4 separate regions of the Homo sapiens genome follow, and regions 1, 2 and 4 are each linked to region 3. The links are contacts of gene promoters, found by promoter capture Hi-C in blood cells and fetal thymus (Javierre and others, 2016). All regions are on one chromosome and are shown on one strand. Each heading gives the region's core, a stretch centred on a gene start or on the middle of the fragment in contact. The rest is flanking DNA. Distances are from core to core; before and after follow the strand shown.

Region 1 (2,941 bases), core at 186-2,685, 290 kb after region 3:
CAGCCATGGCCTTGAAGCCGGGGTTCTGGCCTGGACACGTGCCACTCTCCAGGCCAATAGTCTCACCACCCCTCCCGCCAGCGCTCAGAGGCGGGGCTGGCCGCAGCGCGAGGAATGCGGGCTGGGGGCCCGGGGCACATTCCAGGGAAGACCCCAGGCCCAAGGGGCAAGTTTACGCAACTCGCCGCCCAGCTGAGGCTGGGAGCAGGGGAGGGCACCCACCCCGACTCTCTCTCCTCTTCTCCAGCACTGGAGGCGGCCGGGCTGGTGGGGAGCTTGTGGAGGTGGTAGTGCGCCTCCCAGAGTCCTGGCCCGGAAACAGCGCGCCGGAAAGGGCTGCCTGCGGGGGGCTGACGGCGGCGAGAGGGAGGGGAGAGGAGGTAGGCTGGCCATCTGGAAAAGGGCCTCTTTCCGCACTGTGCACAAGTCCGCTTCGGGGCGGCAGCAAAGTAGGGCAGGCCGGCTGTTTAAAATTAGTCCGGCCCTCCCTCTCACTTTCAGGCGCGGGCCGATGGGCGGCGAGTGTCCGGGGGTGGGGGCGGGAGCGGTGACTCAAAGGGCTTTTACACCCGTGCAGCCTCCTGCGCTCTGCGGATCCCGGGCCAGACCGCTTCGCGGGGACTCCCCTCACCCCGTGAAGTCTCTCCTCGGCCGGCACTCCCATACTCCCATTGACCTACAGGGTCAAGCCCCAATCCAGCTTCCTGACACCGCAGGAAACCTCTGCCACCTCTAGTAGTCCGCCTCGGGCCCGCCCCTCCTCGTGGTCCCGCCCCCACCTCACCTGAAGCAGGTGGAAGCTGGTCCCTCCCCAGCTCCGCCTCCAGGGTCCGCTACAGCCCAAGCGGCTACCGTCACTCTGACCAGGGAAGCCACCCTGGCAGACCGACGGCGAGTGGAACTCGAGCACCTCCCCAGGTGCGCCTAATTCGAAGGGCAGTCAGAATGGCGGAGCCAAGTTCCTGGCACCCCTCTTCAGTTTCCCCTCAACTTGAGAGGGGACTCCCCCGCAGGCGGGGCAGAGTGGACCCTGGGACCCCAGCCCAAGACTTTTCCGGAGAAGAACACTCGCTCCAGCCTCTTCCCGCGGAGCACCTCCCACCAGTTTTCATGGCGCCCACCCTGAACCCCCGATCGCCCCAACCTTTCTCCGGCCTCCCTCACCTTGAGCGGCGCTCCCAGCAGGCGGTGCACCGCGGGTATCTGCGCGCCCAAGGGCAGCGCCCCGTCCAGGCTGCAGGTGGGGGCCCGGCGCGGCTCCGGAAAGTTGGCACATGCGAAGGGGTCGGTGTCTTCCAGGTACTGCACCCTCACGGTCACCACTGATACCGGCTCTCCGTCCCCGCGGTCTTCCCCGCCCGCCATGGCTCTGCGGCCGGCTCACGCAGCGCGCCTCCGAGTCCCGGCCCCAGTGCAGCTTCTACTCAAAGCACACTGTAGCTCCGCGGTTCGGGCCCGGCCGGACCGGACGCGGCTGGAGGGGCGGGGCCAGACGGAGGCGGGGCCGAGGAAGGGGGTGGAGCCAAGATTAGTCCCCGAGTGCGCGCCAGGAGGTAACCACTGCCGGAGGCGGGGCCGCCGCTAGCCACTCACAGGGCCCAATGGGAATCCCGTTAGTTCACTGGCTAGGAGGGCGGGAAAAACCGAGCTCGCGCCCCACCTTCGAGAACGCGCAGAAGGCGGGGAGGCTTTCTTTGGTCTGGGGATAGTGAGGCTGCGTTCTCTTTGAGGGGTGTTAGGGCAGATGGGGCAGAAGTTTCTTTAGATAGTGGCCGGCCAGGTCTCTCTCAGTTGAGGGACAAGATAGCCCTCATTCCTTCCATTTGAGGGGTGAGTCCCTGTGGTTTCCTCATTTAGGGAAAGCAGTGAGAGGGGGTCCCTTCAATTTGGAGCAAGAAGTGAGAATAAATTCCACCCAGTTTGAAGGAAGAGGTGGGATCAGTTCCCTTTAGTTGTGGGAGGAAGAGGGAAGGATGCCCTTCAGTTTTCTGGGAAAAGATTGGGAGGAGTCAGTTTGAGGGGGCAGATAGAACACGTTCCCCTCAGTTTTGGAGAAAAAGTGGGATGGGTGCCCCTCAGCCTGAATGAAAAGTGGAGACGGTCCTCCTCTGTTTGGGGCGCTATGAGCCGAATGCCCCTCAGATTTGGAAAAAGTTGGGTGCATCTCGCCTAGTTTGAAGGGAATCAGTAGGCTGGGTTTTCCATAGGTTCCTGTCAGCTTCATCAAAGAGATGAGACAGTTCTCTGTAGTGTGACTGAAAGGGAGGGCCAGGTGCCCCTTGGTTTGGGAGATGAAGAACAGCCTCCCTCTTCGCCTGGCACGAGCTGGGCCAGTCTGGGCCTTAGGGTTTCTGGGACGTTGGGGGCAGCGTTGTCCGTCACTGCTTTGGGGAGCGTCCAGTGCGCGTGCGCAGCTCAGGTCCGGGTGGGGGCCGGCAGGGGGTCCTGGGCTTGGCAACGTGGGCGGAGGGCGGCCAAGCACGGTCCCCTGCGTTTTGCACCCGGCCGCGCCTTGGTCCCAGGGGGGTGCTGCTCGCCGCACAGCAGCGCTGGCCGAGGAGGAGCCGTGCCCCTCCCGTCCTGACCGCGCCCCCCGCAGACCCCCGCCCTTCCCGCTGCGGGCTGCCCCAGGGGGGCCGTGGCCGCGCACCGCTCTGGATCTGGTGGGGGCGGTTTTGGGGAGGTTTGGGGGCGCGGACTCGAAGGAGTAGGTTGTGGAACTTGGGGGAGAGCTGCACTGGGGAATTTCCGGAGCTGGGACTGATTTAGGGAGGAAAGAGGAGAGAGTCCCCGACTACGAGAGTCCGAGGCAGGGTCTCGGAGCCTGGACCTGGCTTGGGGGTATCGGAGCCGGGATTGGGGGGAGCGGGCCCCACGTGCCTGTGACGCGGGGGCGCCCGGTAGGTGGCGGCGGCGACGCGGGGCCGGCGGCCGTGCGGTG
Region 2 (3,266 bases), core at 566-3,065, 370 kb after region 3:
AGCCCTTCTAAAAGCCTTTCTACAAGTTCATGTTCAGGCAAAGGCTGAATGTAACAAATGGAGTGACTAAGGGTCTCACATAGACCAGAAAGCATAAATATGCAAGGAAGGACCCTTGATTCTGCTTTCTGTTCTCCTTAAAGGTGGCTGAGAGCTCAATGGGGGTGCTCAGAGTGTGCAGATGTTGGATGCCAAAGAAAACCTACTTCTCGAAGGTGAGCCCCAGTTCTGGTCTCAGTTCCTCTTTTCTTTCTTTCTTTTTTTTCTTTTTTTCTTTTTTTCTTTTTTTTTTTTTTTGAGACGGAGTCTCGCTCTCTAGCCCAGGCTGGAGTGCAGTGGCACGATTTTGGCTCACTGCAAGCTCCACCTCCCGGGTTTACGCCATTCTCCTGCCTCAGCCTCCAGCCTCCTCAAGTAGCTGGGACTACAGGCGCCCGCCACCACGCCCGGCTTTATTTTATTTTATTTTATTTTATTTTGTTTTATTTTTGTATTTTTAGTAGAGATGGGGTTTCACTGTGTTAGCCAGGATGGTCTCGATCTCCTGACCTCGTGATCCACATGCTTCGGCCTCCCAAAGTGCTGGGATTACAGACGTGAGCCACCACGCCCAGCCCACCCTCTTTTCTTGTTAAGGATAGGGTGTGACAAGAGGGTCCTGGCTCCTTCTTACATACATGTCCCATCCACAGGTGGGCTCTTAAGTGCCTGCTGGAGTGAGGGTAGGGGTTAGGGATGCGGCTGTTCTTTCCCAAAGACTACTCAGGGGCTGGTTAGTGCAGAGCTATCGCAGCCTGGCGACAGCCCTCAGTCACAGGCAAGCTTAGGGGAACCTGTGGTGCTTGAAAGACAAAAGGCTTCTTGCCGGACTGACTTCAGGAAACGGGGTAGCCCTAAAGCAGTCATCCCCACCCCATTACAAAGAGCTTCTCTCTTTCCCACGCTGATCCTTCTCCCCCGAAGAAGCTCCGTCCAAGTAAATTTCTTACCTTTTTTTTTTTTTTTTTTTTGAGACAAGGTCTGGCTCTGTCACTCAGGTCGCCCAGGCTGGAGTGCAGTGGTGCAATCTCGGTTCACTGCAACCTCCACCTCCCGGGTTCAAGCGATTCTCCTGCCTCAGCCTCCCGAGTAGCTGGGACTACAGGCCGTGCCACCACACCCGGCTAATTTTTGTATTTTTAGTAGAGATGGGGTTTCACCATGTTGGCCAGGCTGGTCTTGAACTCTTGACCTCAGGTGATCCGCCCACCTCGGGCTCCCAAAGTGCTGGGATTACAGGCGTGAGACACCGCGCCCAGCCCGTCCAAGTCAATTTCTAGAGCTAGAACTTCCTCATGCTCTAAAGACAGGACCCCAACTCCTCAGAGCCAGGATTCCCAACCTTTCAGATCTGGAGCTCCCCATCATGCCTTAGAGTTCTGTCCCCACGCTCCAATCCTTCAGATTTGGATCTCCCCTTCACACACACCCTCGCCTTGCCCCAAAGTCAGCATCCCCCAGCGCTGAGATATGAAGACCACCCCGTCAAAGGGGCACACGCCCAGCCCTCAGAACCGGAGTCCCCCACATCCTCAGAGCCAGAACACTTCATCCCTCAAGACAGAGCGTTATTCTAACTCCTCAGAGCCAGCCCCCCAAATCCTTCCCGGCTGGGGGCCCCTCGCTCTCTCCCATGCCCCAGAGCCAGGTCTCGAACCACTTAGCCCCAATCCTTGGCCACAGCGGCCCCCATTCGCCGCTTTGGTGCTTTTGGCGCCCCCGCCAGAGCGGGCTCCGTACCATGGTCGCGGCTCCAGCAGCGGGCGGGCGGGCTTGTGACCCGGCCAATAACGGTTCCCGGGGTCGCGGCGGCGCGCGCGCGGGGGGCGGGGCAGTGGGCGGGGCCTGGCGTGCGCCGGGTGGTCTCGCGGGCGGTGGCAGGTGAGCGGCGGGCGGGGATGGCGGAGCAATGGGAGCTGGACGAGGAAGGCATTCGCCGCCTGGGGGCGCTGACGCTGGAGCAGCCGGGTAGGGTCTGGCCGGGAGGGTGTGGACTGGGAACGTAGGGTCAGAAGCTGTGGAAAGAAAACTGAAGTGGAAGGCGGGGAACCTGAGATAGAGGCGAGGGAACCACAGAGAAGCGGTACCTGAGGCTGGGGGGCGGGGGGATAACTTGAGGCAGAAGGTTAGAGGGAGGTGGAGGTGGAGGAACTGAAGTAACGGGAGGGTGTGGGGCAGAGCCCGAGGAATTGAGAGAGAAGAGGGGAGTGTGAAGTAGGGAAGGAGAAACAAGGTTAACAGGGGACCCTGCCGCAGGTGACAGAACTGCGGGGGGCGGTGGCTGACCGCTGTAATCCCAGCACTTTGGGAGGCGGAGGCGGGTGGATCACCTGAGCGTGGCCAACATGGTGAAACCCCGTCTCTACTAAAATACAAAAATTAGCCCGGCGTGGTGGTTCAAGTCTATAATCCCAGCTACTCGGGAGGCTGAGGCAGGAGAATCGCTTGAACCCGGGAGGCGGAGGTTGCAGTTAGCCGAGATCGCACCACTGCACTGCAGCCTGGGCGACAGAGCGAGACTCCATCTCAAAAATAATAATAATAAATAAAATAAATAAATAATAAAATGTCTATTAGACATCCAAGTGTAAGGTACCTAGTAGGCAGTTGGATATATGGGTCTGGACCTCAGAGGAGAGGTCAGGGTTAGAGATGAAAATTTTGGAGACATTAGCAATAGGTGGTATTTAAAGCTACGGGAGTGGATGAACTCAGCTAAGGAGAGAATGTCGATGGAGAAGTGAAAGAAAGCTTAAGACTCAACCTTGGAATATTTCAGTGTTTAGAGGTTGTATAGAGGAAGAATGTGGTATCTTGGAATTTGAGAAGGGGTAGTGTATCGAGCAAGCAATGGCCAACTGTGCCAAATGCTATTGACAGGCTGAGCAACTTAAATGCAGAGTGTCTGTTAGATTTAGCAACATGGAACTTACTGGTGACCTTGACAGAGGGAGTTTTGGGAGGGTGGGGAGGAGGGAAACCAGATTGGAGTGGGATGAAAAAGGGAAATGATATTTGAGGGGAAGAGACAGTGAAAGTAAGAACTTTTGCTGAAAATTTTAGCTGTAAAAGAGACTGCAGAAATAGATGGTAGCTGAAGCGTATGATGTGCAGTCAAGAACAGAACAGGAAGGATATACTAGAGCATGTCGGTAGTCTAATGATTAATTTGGTAGAGGGGGGAAATATGTAATATTTACTCATTTTGACTGTTAAAATAATTCAAT
Region 3 (2,876 bases), core at 56-2,555:
AATGCCCAGCTGGCACTAGTTATTTTTGGCAGAAGGGAAGTTTCATCCTAAAGCCTGTCTCTTCAGCTCTGGGTGCCAGCTGGAGCCCCGGAAGAGGATCTGGCATCGTGTTTAGGCACAACCCTCACTCTGTCTTTCACTGGGCCAGCAAATATCTATCCATCCTCCCACCGCCTACTCCCAGCCAGCCATGTTCCTGACACTGAGGCCCAGAAGTGAGTCCTGCCCTCCCTGGGGGTGGGAGCCTCCTAAGCCAGCAGAGAGACAGATGCCCTGCAGATCCCCGCCCCGGTCAAGAGCAGGCTTCCATCAGTTCTGGTTCCCAGACTCTCCTCTCCTCAGGCTTCCATGAGTTCTGGTTCCAAGCCCCTCCCCTCCTCTCCCCTCCCCTCCCTCCCTCCCTCCCTCTCTCTCTTTCTTTCTCTCTCTATTTTTCTTTTTTCTCTTTTTGTTTCTTTCTCTTTTTCTGTCTCTTTTTCTTTCTCTCTCTCCTTTCTCTCTCTCCTTCTTTCTCTCTCTCCTTTCTTTCTTCTCTCTCTCTCTTTCTCTCTTTCTTTGTCTTGCTCTATAGCCTAGCCTAGAGTGCAGTGGCATTATCACAGCTCACTGCAGTCTCGACAACCTGGGCTCAAGTGATCCTCTCACCTCAGCCTCCCAAGTAGCTGGGACCACAGGCATGCACCATCACACCTGGCTAATTTTTTTTATTTTTTCTAGAGACGTGTCTCCCTGTGTTGCCCAGGCTGGTCTCAAACTCCTGGGCTCAAGCGATCTTCCTGCCCCATCCTCCTAAAGCACTGGGATTACAGGTATGAGCCACCACACCCAGTCCCAAGCCTCATGTTTTCACACACACACTCACACACACATGCAAACATGTACCCTCACTTCAATGCTATGAGGTGGGTCCTATTATCATCACTGTTTTATTTTCTTTCACATTTTAACATGAGATTTGGAGGGGACAAAACATCCAAACCATATCAAGCCCTCACCTCAGGCTGGGTTGCCCACTCGGAGTGGCACCCCAGGGTCACTGGCCACCACTTCCTAGGGTCAGTGATGTGGTCACCTTGGGATGAACGCACAGGATTTCATGGAGATCACCAAGTCAGGAGAGCTGGAATTTGAAAACAGTGGGACGGGGAGGGCTGTCATATCAACCAGGCCTCTGCAGGGCACTCATCTAGCCCTGCCTCTGGCTCAGCCTGAGCATGGGGCTGGCCACCAGCTAGGTGGCGCTGTCCTTGGAGGTTCTATATCACAGCCCTTTAGAGATCGGTGGTGCTGAAGGGCAGGGATCTTATTCCACCTTCTGAAGCTTCTGTCGAACCAGTTGTAAGGAGAATGGAGAGAGCAGTGAGAGTGGAGTCCGGGGTCCTGGTCGGGGTGGTCTGTCTGCTCCTGGCATGCCCTGCCACAGCCACTGGTAAGACACACCTGCTGGGCCTGCAGAGGTACTTGGTGTGGAGGAGTCAAGAGTGAGACAGGGACAGGGAGCAGTGGGCCGACCGCTCAGGAAACAGTCCTGTTTGGAGGCAGACCAGGGGTTGTGCATTCTCTCTGGGCAGGCGCTCTGCTCTTGCTGTATTTGTTTCGTTGTTTTTGTTGTTGTTGTTTGAGACAGAGTTTTGCTCTTGTTACCCAGGCTGGAGTGCAATGGCGCGATCTCGGCTCACTGCAACCTCCGCCTCCTGGATTCAAGCGATTCTCCTGCCTCAGCCTCCTGAGTAGCTGGGATTACAGGCACCTGCCACCATGGCCGGCTAATTTTTGTATTTTTAGGAGAGATGGGGTTTCACCATGTGGGCCAGGCTGGTCTCAAACTCCTGACCTCAGGTGACCCACCTGCCTCGGCCTCCCAAAGTGCTGGGATTACAGGCGTGAGCCACCGCACCTGGCCTGTCTTTATGTCTTAAGGGGGCCTGAGATTTGTTTTAATGAAGTATAGTAAGACAAGCAGATATGCAAATGACTATCATGAGGGAAGGAGTTTGCTCGTAGTTCCCTGTGAACAGGAAGCAGGCCATGCCACATAGGGCCACAGAGGGAAGCACCAGGTGGCATCAGCCAGGAGGCAGAGGGAGCAGGGGGAAAATGTGGGCAAGCCCCTTTGACACGGTTGCCACGGGAAGGAATAGGCAAGGCAGGCTAAAGAGGTTTACGATTGGCAGCAGGCTCTGGGGAAAGGGGCTGTCCCCAGCCAGCTTCCTGGTACCCGGCTCTGTGGTGATTATGGCTGGTGGATGGCAGCCAGGAGCTGAGAGCTGTATAAAGGAGGTGGTTGGGTATGGCTCTGGACTGGTTTGCCTTTGCTCCCTAGAGAGATGCCTGCCAATTCCACCTCCCCAGAGAGCTGCCTCCTATCTCTAGGAATTGTCTAGCCTGGGAGAGGCAGTCCTCCAGTCTTAGTCTGTTTGTGTTGTTGTAAAAGAATACAGGAAGCTGGGTAATTCACAAAGAAAAGAAGTTTAGTTAGGCCACAGTTCTGCAGGCCGTACAAGAAACATGGTGCCAGCTGGGCATGATGGCTCACACCTGTCGTCCCAGCACTTGGGGAGGCTGAGGTGAAAGGATTGCTTGAGCCCAGGGGTTTGAGACCAGCCTGGGCAACATAATGAGACCCCATCTCTACTTTTTAAAAAATAATTCAGGGCTGGGCATGATGGCTCATGCCTGTAATGCCAGCACTTTGGGAGCCCCAGGTGGATGGATTACTTGAGGTCAGGAGTTCGAGACCAGCCTGGCCAACATGATGAAACCCCGTCTCTACTAAAAATACAAAAATTAGCCAGGCGTTGTGGTGCACACCTGTAATCCCAGCTACTTGGGAGGCTGAGGCCCTGGAGTCGCTTGAACTCGGGAGTCAGAGGTTG
Region 4 (3,104 bases), core at 91-2,590, 470 kb after region 3:
TCTGGCTCCCAGCCTCCCCTGAGATTTCCCTGGCTCACCAGGGGGCTGTGTCTGGTGGCAGAGAGGGCTTTGGAGGAGGCATTGCCCTGAAACCCTGGCAGAGCCTGGGCACCTAAGAGAGAATGAGCAACAGGGCTAGGAAGTGTGACAGGGAGTCCACAACCTCCCAGGATCTTGGGAGGGCAGGGATGAGGCACTGAGCACGGCCTGGAAGCCCACGGGAAGCAGGGACCCCTCTGTCGAGGGCTACACCTACTGCTCTCAGCATCAAGCCTGCAGCCAGGTACTGGCACCAACTCCCAGTGCCTGGCAGAGCCCTGGCATGGATGCTAGGCACAGGGTGCCAGACACGGGGGTGGGCAGGGTGGGGGGCCACTGGGCCACACACAAGCATGGAGACCTTCACACACGCAGGCAGAAAAATCCACCCACACTCATACCACTTATTTTACCCCCTGGGGGTTCAGGGGAGCAAGGCAGGGACCACCCTGTCCTAGAGGCTGCCTTCACCGACGTCCCTCTGGCCTGGCTCTTGGGGTTGGCGGGGGTGGGCCATAAGTAATGGGAGACCTAGGTGCTTCCTCTGACACCCCACCCTCCACTGACCCCCACACACATACATTTGTGAGGCAGGAAGTGGGGTTGTGCGTCCCCAGGTTTAAGCCCTGGAAGGAAAGGGAAAGACGGGGCAGAGACTCCAAGAACCGGGAGCGGTCGTCCTGTTCCCCCGCCAGCCCCTGTCCCAGGCAGGTTTTGTGGCCGCGAGCTGCTCAGGGGTGAGCGCGCCTTAGGGTGTGTGCGCCAGGGACCTGGCGCAGCCGACCACGTGGGAGTGCGGCGCGTGTACGGGCGCGGGCGGCAGCGGCAGCGGCAGCGGAGACCGGGTGAGCACCGGCTGGTTCCTCGCGGTGTTCCTGCAGGCTTGGCGGCCGCGGTGGTGCGATCAGCAAAGGGCACCGGGATGCCGGTTGTGCGTGTCCTCAGGTGTCCCGAACAAGCGTGAGTGGCATGTGCTCACCTGAGCGCGGCGGCTTGGCGGCCCCGGGCGTGTGGGTGGGGGCGCGGCGGAGAGCTGAGGCCGGGCACCCGGGCTGGACCGACGGGCCCTCTCCCAAGCACCGCCCGCAGCCAGGCGGCTCCTCGAGCGCAGCAACTTTGGGACTTTGTTCCGGCTTTTTCCAAATCGAATCTGGTCGAGGGGGCGGGGCGGGGGGGGAGCACCTGCCCTGCGGGGGGTGCCGGGAGAGAAGTGAAGGAAAGCCCCGCCCCCGCCCCTCCCGCTCCCCGCCCTCTCCCCCGCCCCCGGGGCTCTTCATAAGCTCGGCCCGAGGGCGAGCAGAGAAAGCGAGTGTCCCTCTCGCGCCCCAGGCCGGTGTACCCCCGCACTCCGCGCCCCGGCCTAGAAGCTCTCTCTCCCCGCTCCCCGGCCCGGCCCCCGCCCCGCCCCGCCCCAGCCCGCTGGGCCGCCATGGAGCGCTGGCCTTGGCCGTCGGGCGGCGCCTGGCTGCTCGTGGCTGCCCGCGCGCTGCTGCAGCTGCTGCGCTCAGACCTGCGTCTGGGCCGCCCGCTGCTGGCGGCGCTGGCGCTGCTGGCCGCGCTCGACTGGCTGTGCCAGCGCCTGCTGCCCCCGCCGGCCGCACTCGCCGTGCTGGCCGCCGCCGGCTGGATCGCGTTGTCCCGCCTGGCGCGCCCGCAGCGCCTGCCGGTGGCCACTCGCGCGGTGCTCATCACCGGTGAGTGCGCGGGTCGCGGAGCGCGGGGACTCCAGGCTCGAGGGCGGGACTGGACACTCAACAGGACTGACTCCCCATGGGCACAGCCAAGGCGGGCTCCTCAGCGCAAGAGTGGGAGAGTTCTCCACCCCTGGGTGCAGGGAGCGAGCCAAATAGGGAGCGCCGGGCACCTCCCCAAGCCCGGGTTCACTACCTGCCGCTGCGGGGAGTGTTGGAGGGAAAGTGAGACAGGGAGTGGGCCGGTTCGAGAAGGAAACTGACTGGTGGCTGAGAAGAGGGAACCTCCTGGAGTTTGAGAGTTTATGCCATTCCCTTCCCCAAGAGAGCAGTCTCAGGGGACTTCGGAGGCCTTGAGAAGGGAGGATCGTTACCCCTTGAACTCTGCCTGACATCCCCACCTAAGATACCCATCTCCCATTCCTCGGGCCAGAGGGAAGAGCTTAGATGGGGAACTTCCCCACCCCACCCATCCCCCACTGGCTGGGATCCTTGGAGTTCAGAAAAGCTAGAGGTCACCGTGAGGGGCAGCTGGACATTCAGCTGTCTTTCTGTCTAGCCACCCACTGCCAAACTGCTGAGGCAGTAGTTTGGAGCCTACACCCAGCACCCCACCCCCAAGCCCTCCTGGTCCTCTGTGCCCAGGAAGGAGCTCTTAGAGAGCTGGGCTCAGGTGCCTCTGGCCGCCTAGCTGAGCTCCTTTGTCTGGAGCAGGGAATAAATCTGTCACCAGAGGGAGGGAAGGGGAAGGGGGGGGGGGGCTGGAGGCCCGCCGGAAGTGGGGAGGGGGAGAAAGGCCAGGGGGCACTGACTCCATTGCATCGTGGGAGGAGCAGCCTGGTCTCTCGCCAATACCCACGGCTTTGGACAGGTGCTCCAGGCTTTGTCCTTGCGCTGGGCCTTTGCTGGGGCAGCCAGCAACCTGGCTTCTCAGAGACCTCGGTCTAGTAGGGGCCCTGTGTGATCAGATGGGGCTGGGAGAATTTTCCGGAGGAGGAAATCCTTGAGTGGGGCCTTGGAGCATGAGTGGAGATAAGTGGAGTATGAAAGGGATCTCGGATCAGAGAAAGGATGTGGGACAAAGGCTTAAGGCAGGAGTACACACGGTCTCTGTAGGGGACAGCCAGTCTGGGTGTGGGGGTGGGGAGAAGGGGATATGAGGTGGTTTCCTTGGGAGGGGCCATGAATCAGGTAAGAAGCCAGACTGCTGAGGCAGAGTAGGGGGGAAGGAGGCACAAGGGCCTTGCACTCCAGCAAAGATGGTAGAGATGGGGAAGCATTCGGGCTGGACAGGAGAGACCCAGGTTCCAGGCGCAGTGTGAAGCCTCAGCAGACCCCAGTTTCAGAGGTTTGAGGAAGGAAAATCAACAGACA

Evidence for each region. Contacts are between HindIII fragments. The CHiCAGO score rates a contact against its expected background, and 5 or more counts as called.
Region 1: a contact is called between the fragment with the promoter of FHOD1 here and the fragment with the promoter of CES3 in region 3, in 2 of 17 cell types (activated CD4 T cells and total CD4 T cells). The highest score is 5.2, in activated CD4 T cells.
Region 2: a contact is called between the fragment with the promoter of KCTD19 here and the fragment with the promoter of CES3 in region 3, in 4 of 17 cell types (activated CD4 T cells, naive B cells, M1 macrophages and 1 more). The highest score is 6.6, in activated CD4 T cells.
Region 4: the fragment with the promoter of HSD11B2 here is called in contact with the fragment with the promoter of CES3 in region 3 in 5 of 17 cell types (naive CD4 T cells, total CD8 T cells, erythroblasts and 2 more); the score reaches 6.6 in naive CD4 T cells.

The regions. Positions count from the first base shown.
Region 1 is chr16:67,246,046-67,248,986 of GRCh38, forward strand. FHOD1 (formin homology 2 domain containing 1) reads right to left here and starts at 1,436. Exons shown (of 22, transcript NM_013241.3): 1 at 1,165-1,436. The coding sequence starts at 1,365. SLC9A5 (solute carrier family 9 member A5) reads left to right here and starts at 2,934. Exons shown (of 16, transcript NM_004594.3): 1 at 2,934-2,941. RefSeq lists enhancers at 1-270, 2,671-2,941 and silencers at 374-473, 1,374-1,743, 2,386-2,475, 2,496-2,585, 2,886-2,941. The HindIII fragment of the contact is 13,502 bases long and covers 1-2,941 here.
Region 2 is chr16:67,324,926-67,328,191 of GRCh38, forward strand. It overlaps KCTD19 (potassium channel tetramerization domain containing 19), which reads right to left and starts at 1,816. Exons shown (of 16, transcript NM_001100915.3): 1 at 1,780-1,816. The coding sequence starts at 1,782. LRRC36 (leucine rich repeat containing 36) reads left to right here and starts at 1,890. Exons shown (of 14, transcript NM_018296.6): 1 at 1,890-2,007. The coding sequence starts at 1,938. RefSeq lists an enhancer at 1-27 and a silencer at 1,783-1,932. The HindIII fragment of the contact is 1,968 bases long and covers 821-2,788 here.
Region 3 is chr16:66,959,961-66,962,836 of GRCh38, forward strand. CES3 (carboxylesterase 3) reads left to right here and starts at 1,306. Exons shown (of 13, transcript NM_024922.6): 1 at 1,306-1,429. The coding sequence starts at 1,348. RefSeq lists enhancers at 948-1,197, 1,002-1,503, 1,288-1,497. The HindIII fragment of the contact is 21,813 bases long and covers 1-1,319 here.
Region 4 is chr16:67,429,781-67,432,884 of GRCh38, forward strand. HSD11B2 (hydroxysteroid 11-beta dehydrogenase 2) reads left to right here and starts at 1,341. Exons shown (of 5, transcript NM_000196.4): 1 at 1,341-1,733. The coding sequence starts at 1,469. RefSeq lists silencers at 1,010-1,059, 1,280-1,459. The HindIII fragment of the contact is 16,145 bases long and covers 1-3,104 here.